Linked DNA regions of Homo sapiens: all the other regions are linked to region 3. Evidence: promoter capture Hi-C in human tissues and cell types (Jung and others, 2019). All regions are on one chromosome and are shown on one strand. The core of a region is centred on a gene start or on the middle of the fragment in contact, and the rest is flanking DNA. Distances in the headings are between cores, read along the strand shown.

Region 1 (4,154 bases), core at 1,296-3,795, 320 kb after region 3:
CATAGGTTAGTGTCAGGGGACCTAGGGTTCAGACACCCAGAGTTTTATATAAGGATAATTTGTCCTGAATCAAGACCACACTGTCCTCTCCTTAAACCTAACTGCTACAAGCAGACACCACCTCTTCTGACTGGGCTGAAGTGTGGGAAACAGTCCAAAAATTAGGTATCACACCATAAACCCTCCACAAGAGCAACCTTTGCTCTCAATTAAGTTGTTGACAAAATAATTCTCAACTTGCCAATTAAAAAAAAGAAAGCAAACTAGACCTGAGAGACCTGTGTCACTTTTCTTTACTAACGCACAGCAATGCCCATGACACAGGGCACCCATTACTAGGGGAAATAATGATCAGACTCTCAGCTCTAAAAAAGCCCAATTTAAGGGAAATGGACGCCAAAGGCAGCAATGACTCTTAACAAAGGTAGTACCCAGAAAAAGAATCGGCAAACTACACTGTCAGAACACAGGTTTGAAATATAGCAAGGAGTCACGGAAATACTCCATAATTTGAATAAGGCTTTTTTTATTTTTTATTATTTTTGTTCAGTCCTGCTTAATTAAGCTAAAAAAGGACACCACTCTTTTTGACACTGGGAACCCAAAGGAGGTGAAAGAAGAGTTCAGATAGCAACTCACCATGATCACCACCCCTGAACTGCCACTGTTGCTTCAGACCTCAGATTTTGGAATATTTGCGTTCTACGTACCATTTTAGCATCCCAAATCTGAAAATTCAAAATCCAAAATGCTCTAACAAGCATTTCCTTTGAGCAACATGTAGGCATTCAAAATGCTGGGGATTTGAGATGCTTCCAAATGAAGTGACAATCCACATATCACCCATGCTGCCCTCCAGGCACAAAAGATTCATTTGGTTAAGACTCCAAGATAACACAAATCTAAGTGCTCTATTCACCAAAATCTTATAAAGTCCAGCCCCCCAAACCAATGAAAAGACAGTCATTACCGCCCCTAAAACCCCAGTGCCTCCTCCCCAGGAAGTCCTAAAATCAGCCTTGTAATTCTAGAGTGGCCTTAAACTCAAAATACAATCCCTTGGTACAGGTATAATATAAAAGCAACAAGAGCTGTAACCCTTTAAAGAGTTTGTGTAAGGTAGGACAGCTTAACAAGGATTCTGGTCCTATAAGTGTCGCTTGACATGTTTTTGAGAGGTTCTTCACGTAAAATGCAGAATTCTGATCCTGTGCTGAGGGCAATAAATTCAGAGTGAGGAACTCTGAACTGTGCTCTACTACAAAAAAATAAAAAATAAAAAAGGCCCAGTAACTCAGAAAGCCTTCAAAGAAAAGGGTTTCTGCACTGATAAGCACAAAAGCCGTAGGGGCTCCAAATAAAAGGTGAGTGGCTTTTCTCCAGGAGACATTTGCCTAAGGTAAAGCCCCTAAGTCCCATGCATTCTACATCATAAGAAGTCCATCACCCACACTTATTTCTTCATCACCAGCCAGCCAACAGCTGTTATCTTTACCAAACCTCTCCTTTTACTTATCCAACCATTTTCTGCACACAGCCTTGTGTTCAGCCCTCTACCCAAAGAGGGTGGTTCACCTTGAAACTCTGTGTTATCAAGGCCCCTGATGGCCTCCACTGCATCCTCTGCCCGCTCCATGTGTACGAAGGCATAATCTTTCACGATGTCACATTCGATGACCGGACCATACTCCTCAAACTTGGCTCGAAGCTCCTTATTGGTGCAGGTGGGACTGATGTTGCCCACATGCAACTTTGTTGAGGTTTTGCTCTTATTCTTGCTGGCTTCCACGTTGATGTTCACCCCATGAAGCTTGTAATGGTGCAGGTTGCGTATGGCATCCTCAGCTGCCGTCTTGTCTTCTATGTGCACAAAGCCGTAATTCTTAATGATGTCACATTCCAGCACCTTCCCATACTGCTCGAAGAGTGAGCGAATCTCCTGCTCTGTAGCCTCCCGGGGCAGGTTTCCGATGAACAGCTTCACCATCCTGACAAGAGCCTGGGAGAGAAAAACAAGACATCTGACAAAAGACCTCAGGCCCACATCCGTTCACAAAAGACAACGACTTTCACTCTAATGTATATTTCCAGTTTTCTCTCTCACACGCCTGCACACACACCTCCACACAATAATCAAATGGAAGTGGGAGTGAACTAAGGCCTGCTATAGTAGCCGCCATGAACCTGTAAGAATAAGAAGACGTCTGCAATAGGGAGGTCCTTAGTAGACAAAGGGTTTGGTAAGAACCGATACCTTCCAACAGAAATGGGCATGAAAGACAGCATATGAAGAAATGGGGGTACTAGGCTTTTCTATCCACTAGGAGGACAACAGAAAACAAAAGTCTACTAGGCTTGCTGACTGCCTGCCTGAAATTATCAACAGGCTTTTCCTCACGTAGGAACCAAAGCAGCCATCATTTCCGGGAAAATGGGCCTTGTAATAGCTACATTTGAGTTTCCTTTGGAAGTAATGAACGCGCGACTCGGATCAGACAGCGAGGAGTGGGAGATAAAGGAAATACTGGAGTGGTGAACGCCTCTCTCGGGGCACCGTCCTAGCTCCTGCCGAACACTGAAATGCGCGGCCGCGGAAAAGAGCTTCAGATTCATTAACCAGACGATGTCTCACGGCCCGAGAAATTCCCGAAACGAGAATGTAACTGTCAGATATAAGGGAAAGGGGGTTATCCCAGTGGAAATCTCGAGGCTCCAAGAGCAGCCATGTCGGGCGCGGGACAGGGTGGGCGAAAAAAAGCAAGGTATTCTCAGGGGGCGGTGGGGGAAGGGCTGCTCCCGGCTTACCGCGCAATGCCGAGGACCGAGGTCGGCTCTCAGTGACGGGTGTGGAGACTGCGGACCTACCAGGACACCCCCGAAGCCCAAGGGAGTGAGAGAAGATTTAACACAGTACAAGAAAGGCAGTGGAAAGGCTCGGAGTCTCACCCGCACAGAAACCAGCAGGGCCTCCTCCTCGCGGCGCGGACGCTTCTGACAAAACGCTAAAATGGCGGCGGCCGCAGCAGTGCTCTGAGTAGAAGGGGGAGGTGAGCCTACAACCGGATTGGCCACTCAAGAAAGTAAAAGGCCGGCGTTCCCTCAGATCCTCTTCCTGATTGGTTACCACGGACGCCAATTACCTAAGAGGCCGGCAAGAGGTGGAAACGTCTGTAACCTCGGAGCTTTTATGCGAAAGCCAATGGGCACCAACCTCGCGAAGCCGAACTCGCTGATTGGGCAAGAGATCAGCGTGAGGGCGGACCTACAAACGTGGGCTTCGCCGGCGGGGTGCGGCCCGCCATTAGGCGGAGCGAGCTAGAGCCCCGGGGTAGCAGTCTTTAGCTTCATGGCGCCAACTTCGTTAAGCTTCCACATTTCGCCACCTCCACGTGCACAGCCAGACAGTATTCCGCGCTCCATTTTGCCGTTCACTCTAGGTGTCTCCCTCTAACCTCCCAAGCACCACCCCCCCTCGCGGCCAGGACGCTGTGGAAATAGCTTATGCAGGCACATGCCAGGGAAGAAAAACAACGAAGACCCCCCCCAACCCACCACCCACCACTTCAGGAAACCAACCTTCTCCTTGGGCCAGCAGTCCACACTGTAGCCTTGAGAGTCCCGGAGCTCCCCCAAAATCAAACCTCTCACAGGTGGTGAAAGGACCTCTGTAATGGCCTTCCAGAAGTAGGCCCGGCAGGAGGCTGCACTGTCCAGGAGACGCTGAGGACAAGTTCCCTCTGGGAACCAGCCTCCCAGGGTCCGCGATGAAGAAACCTTTCTGAGACCATGGAGATTTAAAGTATACCCCGACCCCACCCTGAGAAAAAACTGGAGCAGCAAAGGTTTTTTTGTTTTATTTTATTGGGCGCCATCAGCCAGAGCTGTTTTAATCCCCTAGAACCGACTTTAGAGGACAGAGCTTAGTCACAACCAGCTGTAAACAAAATACAAAGTAACATTCTCCAGAGGGTCCAGCTGCTGCCTCGTTTTCTCTCATCCTTAGGCTGCTTCATATTCATTAAGCAAGCAACTTTAGTCAAGACCCTTTGCGAAGCAGCTTTTGAAAAGGGTTAAAAGGTGGAGTGCAGGGACTGGATGGAAGAACTTATAACACGAACAAAACAGGCTAAAAGCAGTGCAGAGTTTATGAGGAA
Region 2 (3,859 bases), core at 615-3,114, 490 kb after region 3:
CACTCGATATGTGCTAGGCGCTGTTCTATGTACTTTACAGAAATCACCTCATTCATTTCTTCCAACAACCCTCTGAGGAAGGGATTATTATCATCCCCATTTGCAAAACAGGGGAAACAGAGGCACAGGGAAGTTCAGCAACTTGCAGAGGCAGGATTTGAACCAAGCAGTTTTGCTGGAGAACCAGAGTTCTTCACCCCACACCACACACACTAGGTGCTTTAGGAAAGGCAGCTGGTGTTAACATTTTTCTCATCTGATCAGGAAGTTGGGTGGTTAGAGTTGTCACAGTACTTTGTGAAAAATGGGAAGATAAAATAATAATTATGAATTGAGGTGGGTTTGGTCAATTTTGTCTTTCAGCTAGGAAGGTGAGGAGGGACAAACAGCTGAAGGCCCTATGTGGGGGGAGGAGGGGTCGGGCCCTTGTTCTGGCTGCGTTGGGTGGGTGTCTGGTGCTTCACCCCTTCTAGGCCAGGGATGCTCACCCCAGGACGATGAGTTCACCATACTTGATGGGCTCCTCGCCTGGCTGCGCATCTTCACCGGGAGAGGAGAGAACGCAAGAGCCCTTGTTCCCCCGGTGCTGGAGGTCTGAGGTTCGGGGGGACCCCACTTCAGGGTTTCCTTCCAGCACCATTCTGGGCAGAGTGGGAGAGAAAAGAGCTTTGTAGGTTCCCACCCCAGCCCGGCTCAATTCCAGCTGCAGCCTGCTGCAGGGCCGCCTAGGCTAAGGCAAGGGTGACCTTTCACCGCCTCTACTGCTATGGCAACCACTTCCCCTCTGCCTCCTCTAAACTGCCCGAGGTTGCTGGGATACCAGGGAGGGGTGGCACAGTGAAGAGAGTCAGGATATTCAGTGGTGCCAAAGAGATGGACCAACTTGGGGTGGCCAGAGGCTGCTTTTTGGCCAAGATCCCAGTCTGGGATGTGCTTCAAAGCGGGGCACCCAATGAGTTGGGGGCCGTTACCCCTCATCTCAGACTCAGTTCCTGCTTATAGCTCTTAGCCTCTGGACCTCTGATTTAGCCTCTCTGACAGGTTCTTTGAATCTACCTGTCCATCTGAATCTTTCTTGCCCCTTTGAGGTCTAGGCCTCTGTCTGTCCATCTGCTTTCTCAATGACTCTCTGTCCTCCCAGCCGCTGTCCTTTTTGCCGTCTCTCTCCCCCCATTCCCCATCTCTGCCTGTCTGCCCGCCTCCGCCTCACCATCTGCCTCAGTCTCCCCATCTCGGCCTCCCCCTGCGGGTAGGCCAATAGACTCCTCCTGGGTGCGCGCTCTTCCCTCCCTCAGGTGTCTGTCTGCGTCCCCAGCCGCCCGGGTCTCAGGAGGCCTGCGGAGGCGGCGCTCCCCCCTCGAGCTCGGGCTGCAGCACAGCCGTCTCCCGCAGGCAGCCCGTTTGGAAAACATCCCCGCGCCAGAGGGACCGCGCCGGGGCAGGCCCGCGCCCTGCGCCCCGGGCGGGCAGAACGGGAACCGCGGCCCAGCACCTACGCAGGTCCACACCCGGCGGCCCCTCCGCACAACACGCGCGCGTGCACGGCCCCGCACGCCCCGGGCCCGGACGGCGCAGAGACCACCCGCACCCGCGACCGCAGGGACGCGCGGGCGCGCAGCAGCCACCGGCGCCCGCCCTCGGACCCACTCCCTCCACCACCCCCAGACACGCAAACACGCCCCCCGCGCCCGCCGGGGCCCGCCTGGCGCAGCCCCCGCCCCCTCCGCCCCGGCGGCCTCACCTGGCCACGCTCCGGGCCCCGCTGGGCGCCGCTCCCTCCCCGCCTAGCCCCTGCTCGGCCCCGGGCCGCTGCGGCGGGATGGGCCCGGCCCGCGGCGGCTCCGCGCTGCCTCGTCACGGGGACACCCAGGGCCGGGGGAGGGGGATGAGCGCGAACAGCCACGCTCCGCCCCCTGTCCGGAGGCCCCGCCCCATTTTCCCCGCCCCTAGGAGAGCTCCGCCTCGCTCCAGACTCCGCCTCTTGCGGCGATGCTCAGCCTTCGTAGGCGGAGCTCCGCCCCTTCGCAGGAGACCACGCCCTTCCCCTGGTACCGCCCTCTGACCAGGGAAGCCCCGCTCTCCACTCCGTCTGAGGGACTCCCTTGCCCCTCCTAGCCGGCTCAGGACTCCCCCGTAGTCTACACGACCCCTCCCCCATTTCAGACTCCCCAAACTCCGCCTCCATTTCCGGGGACTCCGGGGTTCTCCCAGAGACATGGGCGCCCCTCCCCACTGTCGGTCAGGGCCCTCACACGGCGCTGGAGGCCCCTTCCCTAGCCTTAGGCCCGGGACTACGCACCCCCAGCTCCGACACCCCGCCTACCATCTGGGGACGCCACGCAATTAGAGGAGAGGAGGAAAATGCTAAAGGCAAAGGGGGTGTGCGGCAGCGGTGGAGGCCGGGGAAAGCAGCTGCAGTTGACCAGAGTCGCAGACCTGTCTTCCAGCCCAGCTCGGGCACCCCCCATTCCCCTCCCCTCAGTCCCCTCCCCTCCGCCAGGATGCACACACCCCCCGCTGTGCTGCAAAGGAAAGAGAGTTTTGGGGGAGCACCGCCCCTTCTGGGCCTGGGGCTTGCGAGAGATCTATCAGTCTACGTTAGGCGCTGTGCGCTGTGCTTTGAGCAAATTAAACCCTTTACTTTAATCCTGGGAGGCAGGCACGATAGTTGCCCATTTTACAGATGAGGAAATAGATTTACAAAAGTGACTTGCTTGTTGTAGTTTGCTAGAAACGGGCCAAGAGAGAATCTCAGCTGTATGAGTGGCTTCAGTCTCAACTCCTAACTTCGTACCTTGTCGTTCTGACTAGGGATGGAGCCTCAGAGGTGCAGAAGAGAAACCTTGTCTGCATCAGGTAAGGTCCCTATTGCTCAGTACTCTTGGTCTGGAACTATAAAGGCTGGATTATAGTTCCAGATCAAGTCTTTGGTCTTGTGGGGGGCGGTGGGGGTGTTTAATGAGAAAATCAAGGAAGACTGCACAGAGGAGGTGGCTTTTGACTTCCATTATGAAGGATGCATGTTTAGTTTGCCTAAACATTCCTGAGAGGGAGCCGCTGCCACTCCCACCCCCACAAACTTGTTGCACCTGAAGTTCCCCATCTACCAGACTCCCCTGGGGCCCTACTATATCCACCCCGCTAACTCCTCCACCTAAAAATAGCCAAAGATACCAACTGCTTTGCCAACTGTTCTGGGGCCCAGCGGCTAGATGAAACAAGAAAGCAGCCGACGGCACATCCTTTAGGGGAAAAGACACTCGTTAGTCACAGAGAATCTCCCTGCGAGACTTCCACCAAGCAGGACACCACCAGACCGCTGGGCTGCTGGCTGCAGGTCACACAAACCCTGTGACACAGGATAGCTGCCCTCACTGATGCCACCAGAGGCGTCCATTGTGCTGGGTGTGCACGGGGACCCTGGGACAGCCTCACTCCCTTGTGTACCCCCAGCTTTTAATGCATTGCCTGCCAGAGCAGGTCCTCAGTGAATATATACTGAATCCCTGTTATAATCCCCAATTTACACACCAGGAAGCTGAGGCTCAGGCAGAAGAAGAAACTTGCCCCAGGTCACAAGCCAGGCAGATGTGGAGCTGATGCTTCACAGGAGCCCCAGTGCTTCCACCTGACACTGGACTGCATGGAGGAAGGTCTGAGAGGGATCACCAAGACTCACTGGAGGAGGAGGCAGGGATTTCTCCTGGGGCAGTACTGGGATTGGAGCTGCATGGTGGCACAGCCAGACCATCAGGCCTCAGGGAGGCTGAGGTGGGCCCGACACCAGGATTGCCCAAGTAAGGGAGAGGAAGGGAGAGTTAGGACACCAGTAGCAGATGCCTAAGTTCCAACCTTGGCT
Region 3 (4,331 bases), core at 805-3,304:
AGAAGGAATGACAGGGAAGTTGGAGTGAGAAACTACTTATACAAGAAGTCTGAGAGAAGAGTCAGATCTCTCCAGGCTCAATAAACAATTTCTAGTTAGCAAGATGTTCTCATAGTCTTTGATTCTCCTTTTTGGAAGCAGGTTATTTTTTCTCTTTGCCCTTATCACCATCTGATGTACTATGTATTAATCTGGGCCGGGCGCGGTGGCTCACGCCTATAATCCCAGCACTTTGGGAGGCCGAGGCGGGTGGATCATGAGGTCAGGAGATCGAGACCATCCTGGCTAACAAGGTGAAACCCCGTCTCTACTAAAAATACAAAAAATTAGCCGGGCGCGGTGGCGGGCGCCTGTAGTCCCAGCTACTCAGGAGGCTGAGGCAGGAGAATGGCGTGAACCCGGGAAGCGGAGCTTGCAGTGAGCCGAGATTGCGCCACTGCAGTCCGCAGTCCGGCCTGGGCGACAGAGCGAGACTCCGTCTCAAAAAAAAAAAAAAAAAAATATATATATATATATATATATTAATCTGTCTGCTCTCCTTTGAAGGCAGGATTTTGGTTTGTTTGGTCACTCCCTTATCCCCTGGTTGGCACAGACCCCAGTTTACGCAGCGGTGAATGAAAGTAAAAATCTCGGGACCCCCCCCCAGCGCCCCAATTCATGCGAAAGTGAAGATTAAGCCTTGAAGCTGAGTCACTGCAACACCCTCTTCCAAAAGAATAGCTGTTACTAGCATTAGGCATCAGCCATATCCACACGGAAAGGTAAAAACCTCAGGCATTTGGGAAGGGCTGCCCCCACAGATCATTCACAAGTAAATTCTTGCTGGCCTCCCATAAACAAGGACAGGTCAATTGTAGCTTCAGGTCTACAATCTAAGTCTAGCTCCTAAAAATTCCACAATAAGAATGTCATTACAAGCTTATTTTCCCAGGTGCAGAACAAAGTCAAAACTACCTACTCAGAGACATCTGCATAACTGACTCTTCCTTTACTCTCTTTTTCTCTTCAGACATTCATCTCATCTTACGTAGATTTACCGGGCATTAGCTAAAGTCCCATAGGAATGTAACTATTGTCCTAATCGCCTACTTGCCCTTCTTCCTACATGCCTTCCCCTCATTCCCCCTTTAAGGAAATGCATAAATACTAAACCTCCCGAAAACCTCTTCGGAAAAACAACCACGGATGTGTCTGTGGTTCGTGTTTTTCCCGAGCACGCCCTCAAACTGGATTAATAAGCCTCGATGACAGAGACTTATGCCTCAGTCACTTGTTCCACTTGTCAAAGCTTTCCTCTTTGACAAGTGTCTTGGGTCTTGTCAAGTGTCTTGTGTCTCAAACAAGGCTTCCAAACCCCCTAGGTCCTGAGTAGCTTCGCTCTGCAGATGACAAAACCGAGACTCAGAGGTTAAGTTGCTTGCCCAAGGTCACACAGACGTACTGTAGACCCCCATCATCATCTACGCAGCTGTTAAAGGACATAGTCATGTAACCCGTGTGGCACAAGCGCCTTCTCCTTCCTCCTGCCCTTCGCTAACGTTAGCTTTTCCTGCGACCTCTTCTCCGCTAGCCAGCGCGTATCTGCGTCTAGCCGGGATGCCTGAGCCCCAGTGCGAACTGTTGTGCTTGCAGCTTCGGGAGACACGTGCTACTCGGGTGAATGAATCGAACGTCCCCACCCCCGCCGACAGCCAATAACTGCGAGCCACAGCCCGGCCACTTCCGCCTATTGCGGGCGTCGGCTAGGGTCCGGCGGCCCACGTGAGGCTCCGGAGACAAGGGAGTAGGCGGTGGTGCGCCAGGGGCGGGCTCTCCCAGCCTCGCCACTTATCCAGGCGCTCGCCGGGGACGGGAGGGGCGGGGCTGACGTGGGGCGCCAAGGCTTAAACGTGACGGACAGGCGGGCACAGGGAGGAGTCCAGAGCCTAGGGGCGAGGAGTGACGGAGAACACTGCCCAATAACGGGAGGGGTTGGGCTGTCTGGGCCAATAGGAAGTCCGTAAGGCGGGGCCGGGACTGCAGCAAGTTCGGTTGCACGGAGACCGCAGCTGTTCTCTGTCAGTGGAGGCAGCAGCGGTAGAGGCGGCGGCGAGGACTGGCGACGGCGAGGAGGTGAGTGTCCGCCGCGCTCCGCACGGTCCTCTTCCCGCGGCGGGTCGGAGCGGGTGGACGTGCGCCGGCACCGCTGCGAGGGACGCTTATGTAAGGGTCGCGCGCGCAAAGGCGGCGCGGGCTCCGCGAGTGACGGCTGGAGGAGACAGCGACGGGCTGTGCGCGGTGCGCGACGCGACGCAGCGGACGGCGCCCCTCCCCCTCGCGCGGGGGCTCGGCCGGCTGGACCCGCCCCCGGACCCGCCCCCGGCTGCAGCCCCCGAGCGCCCCTCCGCAGCGTCCGCCTGCGGGCTGCCTCATTCTTGCTCTCGGGCCCATTTTGCAGATGGAGAAACTGACTAAAGCGCCTCGCGCGAGGTCCCTGAGGGTTCGAACCCAAGTCTGTCAGGATCGGGAGCCCAAGTTGTCCCCATCGTACTGGATGTGGCTCAGCTCTGCAGGAAGCCGCGGCGTGTAAGGCGAGGGCTTTCCTTGTTCCTTGCTCTCGCACTCCGCCTCCCGTAGGATCCTCTACTTTGTTTCAGACGGGGAAGCTCCAGGCGCCCAGACGCAGTGATTCGCCCAAGGCCGCTCATTCAGGAGGTGGGGCTGGGCTCAGCCCCTTATTTCTCCAGCTTTTAGTAGTTTACAAAGCGCATCAGAGTCGGAAGCCAAGTCCCTAGGTCCCTGGCAACTTTGAGATTCTTTTGTTTTCTTTTCTTTTTTAGACAGGGTCTTGCTGTCACCCACCCAGGCTGGAGTGCAGTGGCGCGATCTCGGCTCACTGCAGTCTCGACCTCCCGGGCTCAAGCGACCCTCCTGCCACAGTCCCCCAGTGCTGGGACTACAGGCGGGCGCCACCACGCCTAGCTAATTTTTGTATTTTTTGGTAGAGACGAGGTTCCGTCATGTTGCCCAGGCTGGTCTCGAACTCCTACGCTCAAGCGAGCGGCCTGCCCTGGCTTCCCAAAGTGCTGAGATTACAGGCGTGCCTCGTCTGAAATTCTAAAAAATCAGATTGTGTCTTTATTTTGTGAGAAGAGGTAGGCCTGGGCTCCTTACCCGTTCTCCAGCTGAGAAAACAGGCTCAGAGAAGTACCAACACTTGCTGATGACAACCAGAACCTCCAGAGTGCCTGCCATCTGCCTCCCTATTGCTCCCGTACCCACTGCCACCATCAGCCCTGGCTGGCCTCCCCCAAGGCACCCTTTCCCTGTATGTGATGCAAACACTTGTGCTGGGGGTGGATGTGCTCAGCATTTCTCTCACTTGCAGCTACAGCTTCCTGCCTGCAGGCTCTCCTTAACTGTTGAACTCTTAATCACATTCTTTTGCACACCTACAGTGTTCCTATCCCTACACTGGGCCGAGAGACAGCGTGGGCGATGAGGTCAATCCTTGTCCTGCAACTGCTGACAAACCCATTGGGGGAGAGAGAAAATAAACAAAACCTAAGCAGCAAGGCAGCCTGCTGCAGATGTTTGTAGAGAGCCTAGTGGGTGAGGTATTGGCCCTAGGAGGACATGGAAGAGGAAGTTCAGTAGAGGCCAGTAAATCACAGCAAACCACACACTAAAGCGAGAGAGAGGAGAAATGGCCTGGAAGGGGATGGGCTTGGGAAGGCTTCGTGGAGGAGGTGAGTTGTGGACCTCTTTTTGATGCCGCTGCAGTGGAGAAACAGTGATTGGATTTCAGCAGCTAGAAAGTTTTATTCTGGAGAGGTTTTGTTAAAGAGGTTTTTTTGTTTTTGTTTTTTGAGATGGAGTTTCGCTCTTGTCGCCCAGGCTGGAGTGCAGCGGTGTGATCTCAGCTCACCACAACCTCCGCCTCCCGAGTTCAAGCGATTCTCCTGCCTCAGCATCCTGAGTAGCTGGGATTACAGGCGCATGCCACCACACCTGGCTATTTTTTGTATTTTTAGTAGAGATGGGGTTTCACCATGTTGGCCAGGCTGGTCTTGAACTCCTGACCTCAGGTGATCCGCCCACCTCGACCTCCCAAAGTGCTGGGATTATAGGCATGAGCCATCATGCCTGGCCAGTTACAGAGGTTTCAAGCAATTAGAACTGGAAGAGGAAGGCTGAGGAAGGTGGAAGGAGAATGTGGGGGAAACAGCTTCACTGTTGGGTGTAAGAAACTTGATTGGTCACTGGGAAGAGGCCTCTACAGGAGATGTAACCAGGTGAGGGCACTAGGATTTGCTAAGGTGCAGGTAAGTCAGTGACTGGAAACCAAA
Region 4 (4,205 bases), core at 1,629-4,128, 340 kb after region 3:
CACAAAAATGAAGAGAAGATATTTTCCTCTTTTGTCTTTCAGATCTCCCCACAAGTCTGTACATGTTTCCGGAAGCTGTTCATCTTTGAACACCCAATAGGAGGAAGCTGTGGAGTGGTTACAATCCACTGTTGCTATTGAGATTTCTGTTCTACAAATCCTATCTAAGCTCCTGGAGTAACCAAGCAACTATGTTGTTTTTTTTTCCTGTGAAATAAAACAGAGCTGGTTGTCTGGTGCAACACCAAGCTTCTGTGCTTTTCAAAGCCCTGTCAGCCAACACAAGGAGACTCAATCAAATGACCATTCCCAGCATAAGAAATGAGTACGCTCTTTAGAGAGCCAGTCGCTTCTACTACACTCCCAACTTTCAACCCTCACTTTCCGTCATCACAAACAGATAAAAAGACATCAGTGGAGGATATGATGTTCAAATCTTTCCCAGTCTCTTACATCGAAGTATGTCAGGAGCTCTGTTACACAACAATGTAACTGCAAATAGTTGACCACCACTCCCGGAGTAAGTCAATGCATTTTTGCTAATCAAATGTTTACAAAGGAACAAGATGCACAAAACTCCGTCTAACTCTCACAAGGAGTCAGCCAGGAGTTCTAAAAATTCATGTGCAGTTATGCACTTCACCCGCATCGTCACTTGGTGTTGGGTCCCAAGCAAATTTCAGGCAAATTTTTGACTTTCTCTACCACCTGAAAGCCAGCAAGAAGCCTGAGTTCCAGGGAGACTGTCCCTTCAGATGTTTGACTCTAGACTCTCAACCTAGTAGCCACTCTACCTAACAACCACAAAAGAAACTTGGTAAGTCAATTAAACACAAAACTCTCACAAATGAGACTCATATACCCCACCCTTTTGCTGGACAAGTACCCAATCTGAGACCCTCCCCCACCACTCTTTTACTCTAAACAAAAGCAAAAATCCATGCACCATACAGCCTGCCTCAGAGCACCCAGCAGGAAAGCCCGATTCCGGATAGTCGTGGACTTGTATAACCTGAGTTGAGGAAAATAGAATGCAGTATTAATGCAGAACAAGGACTTGTTCCTAGTAGTGGACACTATGACCCTTTATATTTCCCCCACTTAAAGGACTAGGAATGGCCCCAAACATGTGCCTTTCCAGGACAGCAAATGAAATATCTTGGTGGGATAAATAAGCACTTGCACCCACATTTATTTCCTATCCCTGAAACTTCTCACACAGGGTATGAGCAGGTATGAACCCACCAGGAGTAGGGCATCAGATACTCCCAGGCTGCATCTTCCAAAATGACAGGGCAAAGTTAACTCTGATCTGTTCCCAAGTGGAGCAGAGACTGGCCACATACACAACGGCTGTCCCACCAAATCTTGCCAATGTAAAAGATAAAGAGCTTAAGGGATAAAAACTCAAGCTATGAAAAAGTCAACTGGGTCCCTAGTCAGGCTTAAATTATGGTGACACATTTTTCTCGAAGAAAAGGCACCGGGATCTGCCCTGAGAATCAGACTACTCAAGCAATGACTACTACTGATTCAGTAAACCGTGTTTAGCCACTGTTTAATGAAGAGCTCTCACAGACCCCTCCCCAGGACCCCCTCAGCCAGAGTATGCCCCCCTGCAAAGTCACCAAGCTTATAAAAGAATGACACTGCCCTAGGGCACTGGCTTGGCATGTAAAGACTACGCAGAAGGGGACTTCATAAAACAAGCTTTCTTGCACATGCAAAAGGCTGGGGTTTCCAGTTGACAGATGTAAAATCGAGCCCAAAGAAAAACCCCAAGTTTGAGGGAGGAGAAAAGCACAGAGCTGCCACGCCTAACCTACCTAATATTGAAAGGCCAAAGTGATTCGGAAGGGGCCCCTCTCGTACCCACGTGTAACTGTGCCCATGAGTAGACCCATGCCAGACAAGACTAAAAGACCCCAGCCCGAGAAACGTCCAAGGGCCCCGTTACCTTCCGCTTGAGCACATTCATCGGGAGGGAACAGGAGGGCGGCCTTGGGGCGTCAGCCCCCACCTTTTCCCTCTTCCCTTGCTCTGACCGACGTCTGGAGAGGAAGTGGGGAAGTGGAGAAATCTTCCCCGCTTCATGATCCGGCTTGTGCCCGTCACTTCCCAATTTCCGCTGGGTGCCAGGCCCAGGAGACCAGGAGAAGGCGCGCCCCCGGAACACTCGCAAGGCTCTCAGGCGCGTCCCCGGCCCCGTAGCTTGGCTCGCAGTGGCCGCCGCACCCACCCAGAGCCGCTTCCTCCTACTTGGTGGACGGTTCCTGGACCGCAGGGGAGGAGGGTGGCTCTACCCAACGCGCCCCCAACACCTCCGACCTGCTCCCGCGCACTTCCCCACCCCTCCCAACCGCGCAGTGACCGACCCCCGGGTAAGGGGCGTGGCTAACAGGCAGAGTGCCCCGAGCGCGCCCCCGCCCCCGAGCGCGCCTCCGCGTTACCTTTCACCACGTCACACTCGATGACGCGTCCGCGGCGCTCGAAGAGGCTGCGCAGTTCCTGGCTCGTGCATGCAGCCGACACATTGCCCACGAAAATCTTCCAAGTATTAAGAGGCCTTGGGCGCGACATCTCCACCACGAGCGCGCGCCCCGGCCGCAGCTCGTGGCCGTGCAGGGCTTCGATGGCGCGCAGCGCGCCCGCGTTCTCGCGCATGTGCACGAAGGCGAACTGTTTCATGACGGCGCAGCTCATGACCGTGCCGTAGGGCGCAAAGAGGGCTGCCAGCTCCTCCGGAGTCGTATCCGCCCCGTCGACGTTGCCCACGAATATCTTCATTTTGTCGCCGCAGCCACCTTCCTGGAGAGCCCGGACCTCTCCTCCAGCGACAGGCAAGACGTCCGAACGACCGGCAGTCCTCCTCAGGAATGGCTGGCGACCGAGAACCCCGCCGCGCAGGCGCCCTGGCCTAGCCAATGGGGACTCGCATCCCGCGCGTCCAGCGACCAATCAGAAACGCTGAGGGAAGATGTGCTCAGGCACAGCCAATCCCAGAGGGCCTAGAGCCCGCTCGTTAGCTGAGGGGGTGGGAAAGGGACGACCAACCGCCACAGCCCGTGGCGGGAGAGGGGGTTGGGAAGAAGAGGGAGGGCTGAAGAGAGGAGAACGCGCGCGAGCGGCGCCGGCGGCAGAGAGGCCTAGTCTGTAAGGCGGTCTCTGGCCCGGGTGGGGCTGGGACCGGCGGGCTCCCAGGAAAACTTTGTACAATTGGAAGTCAGGGCTCCTCCCATTCTGGAAGCCCTGTCCAAACCCGCGCCTGGGGGTTGCCGCGTGAGTGTACGGGGGAAGGCCGGGCCTGGCGGGAGAAACCAGGACAGGCGCCTTGAGTCGGCAAACGGCTCCCAGGACTGTGCTGAGCACCGCGAGGGGACCTGAGGCAGGCCCCGGAGAAGCCCTCGTGCCATTAATTGATTCTTTGGAAACATTCCCTGGGGTTGCTGAGGTCCTGGCAGCCGGTGAAAAATCAAAGGCCTCTGCCCTGATGGAATTCCCAGTCAAGAAATAATGGAATGACGTTATTGTATGTTGAAGGTTTTCATAATAAACAGTTTAATAAACGAGAAAATTAATTCTGCAGGAAGCAAAAGTTGAGCCTTAAAAAAAATTTTAGTCCGGGAGCGGTGGCTCACGCCTGTAATTCCAGCACTTTGGGAGACCAAGGCAAGCAGATCACCGGAGGTCAGGAGTTCAGGACCAGCCTGGCCAAAATGGTGAAACCCCGTCTCTACTAAAAATACAAAATTAGCCGGGTGTGGTGGTGCGCGCCTGTAATCCCAGCTACTTGGGAGGCTGAGGCAGGAGAATCACTTGAACCCGGAAGGCGGAGGTTGCAGTGAGCCAAGATCACGCCACTGCACTCCAGCATGGGCGACAGTGAGATTCCGTCTCAAAAATTTTTTTAAACAGATTTGAGTATGTAAATAAGATTGTTGCATGGCAGACAACATCAAAAACATAGACATGTGACAAACTCAGGGAAATATTTGCCTACGTGTTCAGTCAACAAATAGCACCTACCATGTGGACACCACCAAGAATATAGCAGTGAACAAAAAAAAATGACAGAAATCCCAACCTTCTTGGATCTTATGGTGGGGAGAAACAGGCAAGAAATAAGTAAAACATAAGCGTGTTAGATGGTGATGAGGACTTGGAGTAATCAAGGGAACTAAGCCATCCTCTGAGGGAAGATCATG
Region 5 (4,298 bases), core at 1,366-3,865, 270 kb before region 3:
CAACATGGTGAAACCCCGTCTCTACTAAAAATACAAAAATTAGCTGGAGTGGTGGTGCGTGCCTGTAGACCCAGTTACTCAGAGGCTGAGACAGGAGAATCACTTGAACCCAGGAGGTGGAGGCTGCAGTGAGCCGAGATGGCGCCACTGCACCCCAGCCTAGGTGACAGAGCAAGACTCTGTCTCAAAAACAAAACAAAACAAAACAAAACAAAACAAAAAAGCAGCCGGGCGCGGTGTCACGCCTGTAATTCCAGCACTTTGGGAGGCAGAGGCGGGTGGATCATCTGAGGTCAGGAGTTCAAGACCAGCCTGAACAACATGAAGAAGCCCAGTCTCTACTAAAAATACAAAATTAGCCAGGGTGGTGGTGCATGCCTGTAATCCCAGCTACTCGGGAGGCTGAGGCAGGAGAATTGCTTGAACCTGGGAGGTGGAGGTTGTGGTGAGCCAAGACTGCGCCATTGCACTCCAGCCTGGGCAAAAACAGTGAAACTCAGTCTCAAAAAAAAAAAAAAAAAAATTCTCATAGTAGGAAAACCCTATTCTACCTATGTACACTTTCAAGAGTCAACATTACCCACAACCCCTCCCAAACAGAACCTCATACACACGCTGATAGCTTTACCAGTTTACCGGTAAGGCAATACTTCCTTTCTTTTTTCTTTTTTTTTTTTTTTTGAGATGGAGTCTTGCTCTGTCACCCAGGCTGGAGTGCAGTGGTGCCATCTGGGCTCACTGCAAGCTCCGCCTCCCGGGTTCACGCCATTCTCCTGCCTCAGCCTCCCAAGTAGCTGGGAATACAGGCGCCCGCCAAGACACCTGGCTAATTTTTGTATTTTTTCTAGAGACGGGGTTTCACCATGTTAGCAAGGATGGTCTTGATCTCCTGACCTCATGATCCGCCCGCCTCAGCTTCCCAAAGTGCTGGGACTACAGGCATGAGCCACCATGCCCGGCCTACTTTCTTTTTGAGACAAGGTCTCACTCTTTTGCCCAGACTGGAGTGCAGTGGTGAGATCACAGCTCAGTGAAGCCTCAACTTGCCCAGCTCAAGTGATCCTCCCACTTCAGCCTTCCACGTAGCTGGGATCACAAACACACACCACCACACCTGGATAATTTTGTATTTTTGTGGAGGTGAGGTTTCGCCACGTTGCCCAGGCTGGTCTCAAGAGATCTGCCTGCGTCTGCCGCCTAAAGCACTAGGACAAGAGGTGTGAGCCACTGGGCTCAGCCCAAGTCAGTACTTTTTAATGTCCTATTTTTTCACTTAATCCTCTTCCAACTCTATATTCTATGACTTGTTCTTCAACGCCTTAGAACCTAAAAAAAGCCCTTTTATCACAGCACTGAAATGCACTATTTTTCCTTGGAATATTATGAATATCTCATCTACCACTTTTCCCCTCATCTCTTCTACTAATTATTCCTGAAAGCCAGATAGGTTACAACAGCAAACAATTCCTTTCTCTGCAGGAAGGGTAAACTGTACTAGCTTTGTCCCCCACTGAAGTATAGCCATCAGTGCTATAAGCACCAAGTTTTCTAGCACTTGAAAGTCCCCAGCTGTGCAGTGATTCAGCAGCTACCCAATCTAATGCTTTTTTCTTTTGAGTGATGCTTAGATTCTCAAGGTATTCAAGCTCTAAGCTTGCTATATCTTTTCTGAGATTTAGCATAACTGATCAAATATAGGAATAATTAATCTATTTGATCTTAAGTGAAACTACACCTGCAGAGCTGGAATCTAAATCTGTTGTCTTCTGACGTCAGCTACATTTTGACTGTGGTTTTGGGTAAACGAGAAGCTGTGGACAAGTCTCTGGAGGGAGAATTCAAACACTGTCGGCCTGTGTAGTCATCTCACTGGCTACTTGTTCCTCATGCTCTGGCCTCTGCCACTATATCTTAGCCAGTGATGGCAGTCACGTTTTTCAGTGGTCCCTGATAAACACAAGCAAGCTATCTCCGGACACTTTTCATAATGCTAAGCCTCCTCTTTAGATGTCTCTTCTTAACTCCCCTCTCTTCTTGCTGACTCTGCTTAATATTTAACCCAAATCTTTCTACTTTTTCCTTTGGTATACCATTGTACCACCCTTTCACCTCAAATCTCCTTATTTAGCTACTTTAGTTAAACTACTCCAATGGATTTGTTGTTGTTGTTGTTGAGACAGGGTTTCACTTCCATCACCCAGGCTGGAGTGCAATGGCGCAATCTCGGCTCACTGCAACCTTTGCCTCCCAGGTTCAAGGGATTCTCCTGCCTCAGCCTCCTGAGTAGCTGGGATTACAGGTGTCTGCCACCACACCCAGCTAATTTTTGTATTTTTAGTAGAGACGGGGTTTTACCATCTTGGCCAGGCTGATCTTGAACTCCTGACCTCGTGATCTACCTGCCTCGGCCTCCCAAAGTGCTGGGATTACAGGCATGAGACATCGCACTGAGCCTTTTTTTGTATTTTTAGTAGAGATGGGGTTTCACCATGTTGGCCAGGCTGGTCTCGAACTCCTGACCTCAGGTGATCCTCCCACCTTGGCCTCTCAAAGTGCTAGGATTACAGGTGTGAGCCACTGTGCCTGGCCCCCCTAAATTTATAAAATGGCTTAAAAGTAGCTTAAAATAATCTATGTGAGGTTTTCAAAATAACATTACAACTTGTAGATTAGCTTTCTAATATACATACCCATTGTTCCAAACACTGATTTAAAAATAAAATTGCTATTTCCAGCTTTACAATTCTTGGTCTTCACATTAATTGTTACTTAGGAGGAAAGACTTAAAATAATTTCCTCCAGTTTAGATAGCTCAAGGTTGGGTGTGGAGGCTCATGCCCGTAATCCCAGCACTTTGGGAGGCTGAGGCAGGCAGATCACCTGAGGTCAAGAGTTCGAGACCAGCCTGGCCAACATGGTGAAACCCCATCTCTATCAAAAATATAAAAAAATTAGCCAGGCATGGTGGCACGTGTCTGTAATCTCAGCTACTCAGGAGGCTGAGGCACGAGAACTGCTTGAACCCGGGAGGTGGAGGTTGCAGTGAGCCGAGATCTTGCCATTGCACTCCAACCTGAGCGACAGAGTGAGACTCCGTCTCAAATAAATTAATTAATTAATTAAAATTAAAAAAAAAAAAAAAAGCTCAAGTCTGGATTCCTTAAGAAAAATATACAATATGAAGGGGAGCTGGAGGAGGGATAGCATTAGGAGAAATACCTAACATAAATGACGAGTCAATGGGTGCAGCAAACTGACATGGCACATGTATGTCTATGTAATAAACCTGCACGTTGTGCACATGTACCCTAGAACTTAAAGTATAATTAAAAAATAAATAAACATAAAACTTGATAAAGCAATGGGATGAATTATTTTAAAATGATGCTTTTCCCAATGTATTTAAGTCTTGATGCTAGATAAATTTGAATCTAAAGAGGCTAAAGCTACTCAACGTTAACCCAGCATAGAACAATTTCATTTCTCTCAATCTGCTTAGGATGAGACTCCTATCAGTCACTTTTGTCCTGAGTTTTATCTCAAGGTAACTTAAGTTTAATGTAACATTTCTTATATAAATATTTTCTTTGGGTCACTTTATTTTTGGGGTCAGCCTGAAACCTATGTTTAAGACTAAATTTATAAGTCTTCAATGAACACATAAATGTTAGTATTTTCAAAACAGGGACATAACCTCATTCTAGTAATGAAAACACTGAGCAGCAATAACAAACACACATGCATATTAACTTCTCTCTGACTGAACCAGAGATCACCCAAAATTCCTATATTTTCTCCCTCTGAATCTGGAAGCTGACTGCCATAGCTGGATCAGTAGCTGTCATGTAACACATCAAACCCTTACCTTTACATCAGCAATGAGAGCATCTTCATCTTCTATCCCTGTGGGGACACATTTCTTGTGCAGTGGCAGAGACTCCAACTTATCTACAAGGCAGCGAAGGCCTTCAAGCTCAAAATGGGTCAGATGCACTTGCCTGTCCTTTCGGGGAGCACACTGGGGATCCCACACTTGTCCATTGTGGGAGCCCCGGCTACAGTCAGAAGATGAGTCCCCAGCCAAAGTTTTCTTCAGACTTGGAAGACTTCGGCAGGTTTTGCCCAGTCCATCATAATCCAGGTTGACTCCATTCGCTACAGGGCTAGTGAGGACAGAACGCCTGCTGCTCAAGCGTCGGGGTTCTCGATCCACTGCTTCCTCATCCCCATTCCCAGACTCCAACCCATTTAACTCCAAATCTACCAATATGAAGAAAAAATGCAGTAAGAACATTTCA

Evidence for each region. The method cuts DNA at HindIII sites, captures the fragments that hold promoters and counts their contacts. A contact is called where the count stands out against the background at its distance.
Region 1: a fragment that was not itself captured here is called in contact with the fragment with the promoter of PC in region 3 in 1 of the 25 tissues and cell types used here (dorsolateral prefrontal cortex).
Region 2: a contact is called between the fragment with the promoter of PELI3 here and the fragment with the promoter of PC in region 3, in 1 of the 25 tissues and cell types used here (mesendoderm cells).
Region 4: a contact is called between the fragment with the promoter of RBM14 here and the fragment with the promoter of PC in region 3, in 1 of the 25 tissues and cell types used here (hippocampus).
Region 5: a fragment that was not itself captured here is called in contact with the fragment with the promoter of PC in region 3 in 1 of the 25 tissues and cell types used here (dorsolateral prefrontal cortex).

What each region holds. Positions count from the first base shown.
Region 1 is chr11:66,637,545-66,641,698 of GRCh38, reverse strand. All of the region lies in intron 1 of RBM14-RBM4 (RBM14-RBM4 readthrough), which reads right to left. RBM4 (RNA binding motif protein 4) reads right to left here and starts at 2,996. Exons shown (of 4, transcript NM_002896.4): 1 at 2,947-2,996; 2 at 1,576-1,999. The coding sequence starts at 1,987. RefSeq lists enhancers at 2,120-2,831, 2,698-3,067, 2,832-3,545. The HindIII fragment of the contact is 5,623 bases long and covers 1-4,154 here.
Region 2 is chr11:66,464,910-66,468,768 of GRCh38, reverse strand. PELI3 (pellino E3 ubiquitin protein ligase family member 3) reads right to left here and starts at 1,864. Exons shown (of 8, transcript NM_145065.3): 1 at 1,742-1,864; 2 at 489-641. The coding sequence starts at 640. RefSeq lists silencers at 1,377-1,726, 1,737-1,946 and enhancers at 2,898-3,397, 3,398-3,859. The HindIII fragment of the contact is 25,810 bases long and covers 1-3,859 here.
Region 3 is chr11:66,956,106-66,960,436 of GRCh38, reverse strand. PC (pyruvate carboxylase) reads left to right here and starts at 2,054. Exons shown (of 23, transcript NM_001040716.2): 1 at 2,054-2,115. RefSeq lists silencers at 1,617-1,976, 2,297-2,396 and enhancers at 2,047-2,096, 3,260-3,639. The HindIII fragment of the contact is 6,851 bases long and covers 1,107-4,331 here.
Region 4 is chr11:66,615,303-66,619,507 of GRCh38, reverse strand. RBM14 (RNA binding motif protein 14) reads right to left here and starts at 2,878. Exons shown (of 3, transcript NM_006328.4): 1 at 2,451-2,878. The coding sequence starts at 2,787. It overlaps RBM14-RBM4 (RBM14-RBM4 readthrough), which reads right to left and starts at 2,878. Exons shown (of 2, transcript NM_001198846.2): 1 at 2,451-2,878. The coding sequence starts at 2,787. RefSeq lists enhancers at 2,633-2,862, 1,995-2,928, 3,293-3,402. The HindIII fragment of the contact is 10,275 bases long and covers 942-4,205 here.
Region 5 is chr11:67,231,528-67,235,825 of GRCh38, reverse strand. It overlaps KDM2A (lysine demethylase 2A), which reads right to left. Exons shown (of 21, transcript NM_012308.3): 12 at 3,866-4,260. Among named protein-coding and RNA genes, the nearest start is that of GRK2, 33 kb to the left of the region's middle. The HindIII fragment of the contact is 4,272 bases long and covers 480-4,298 here.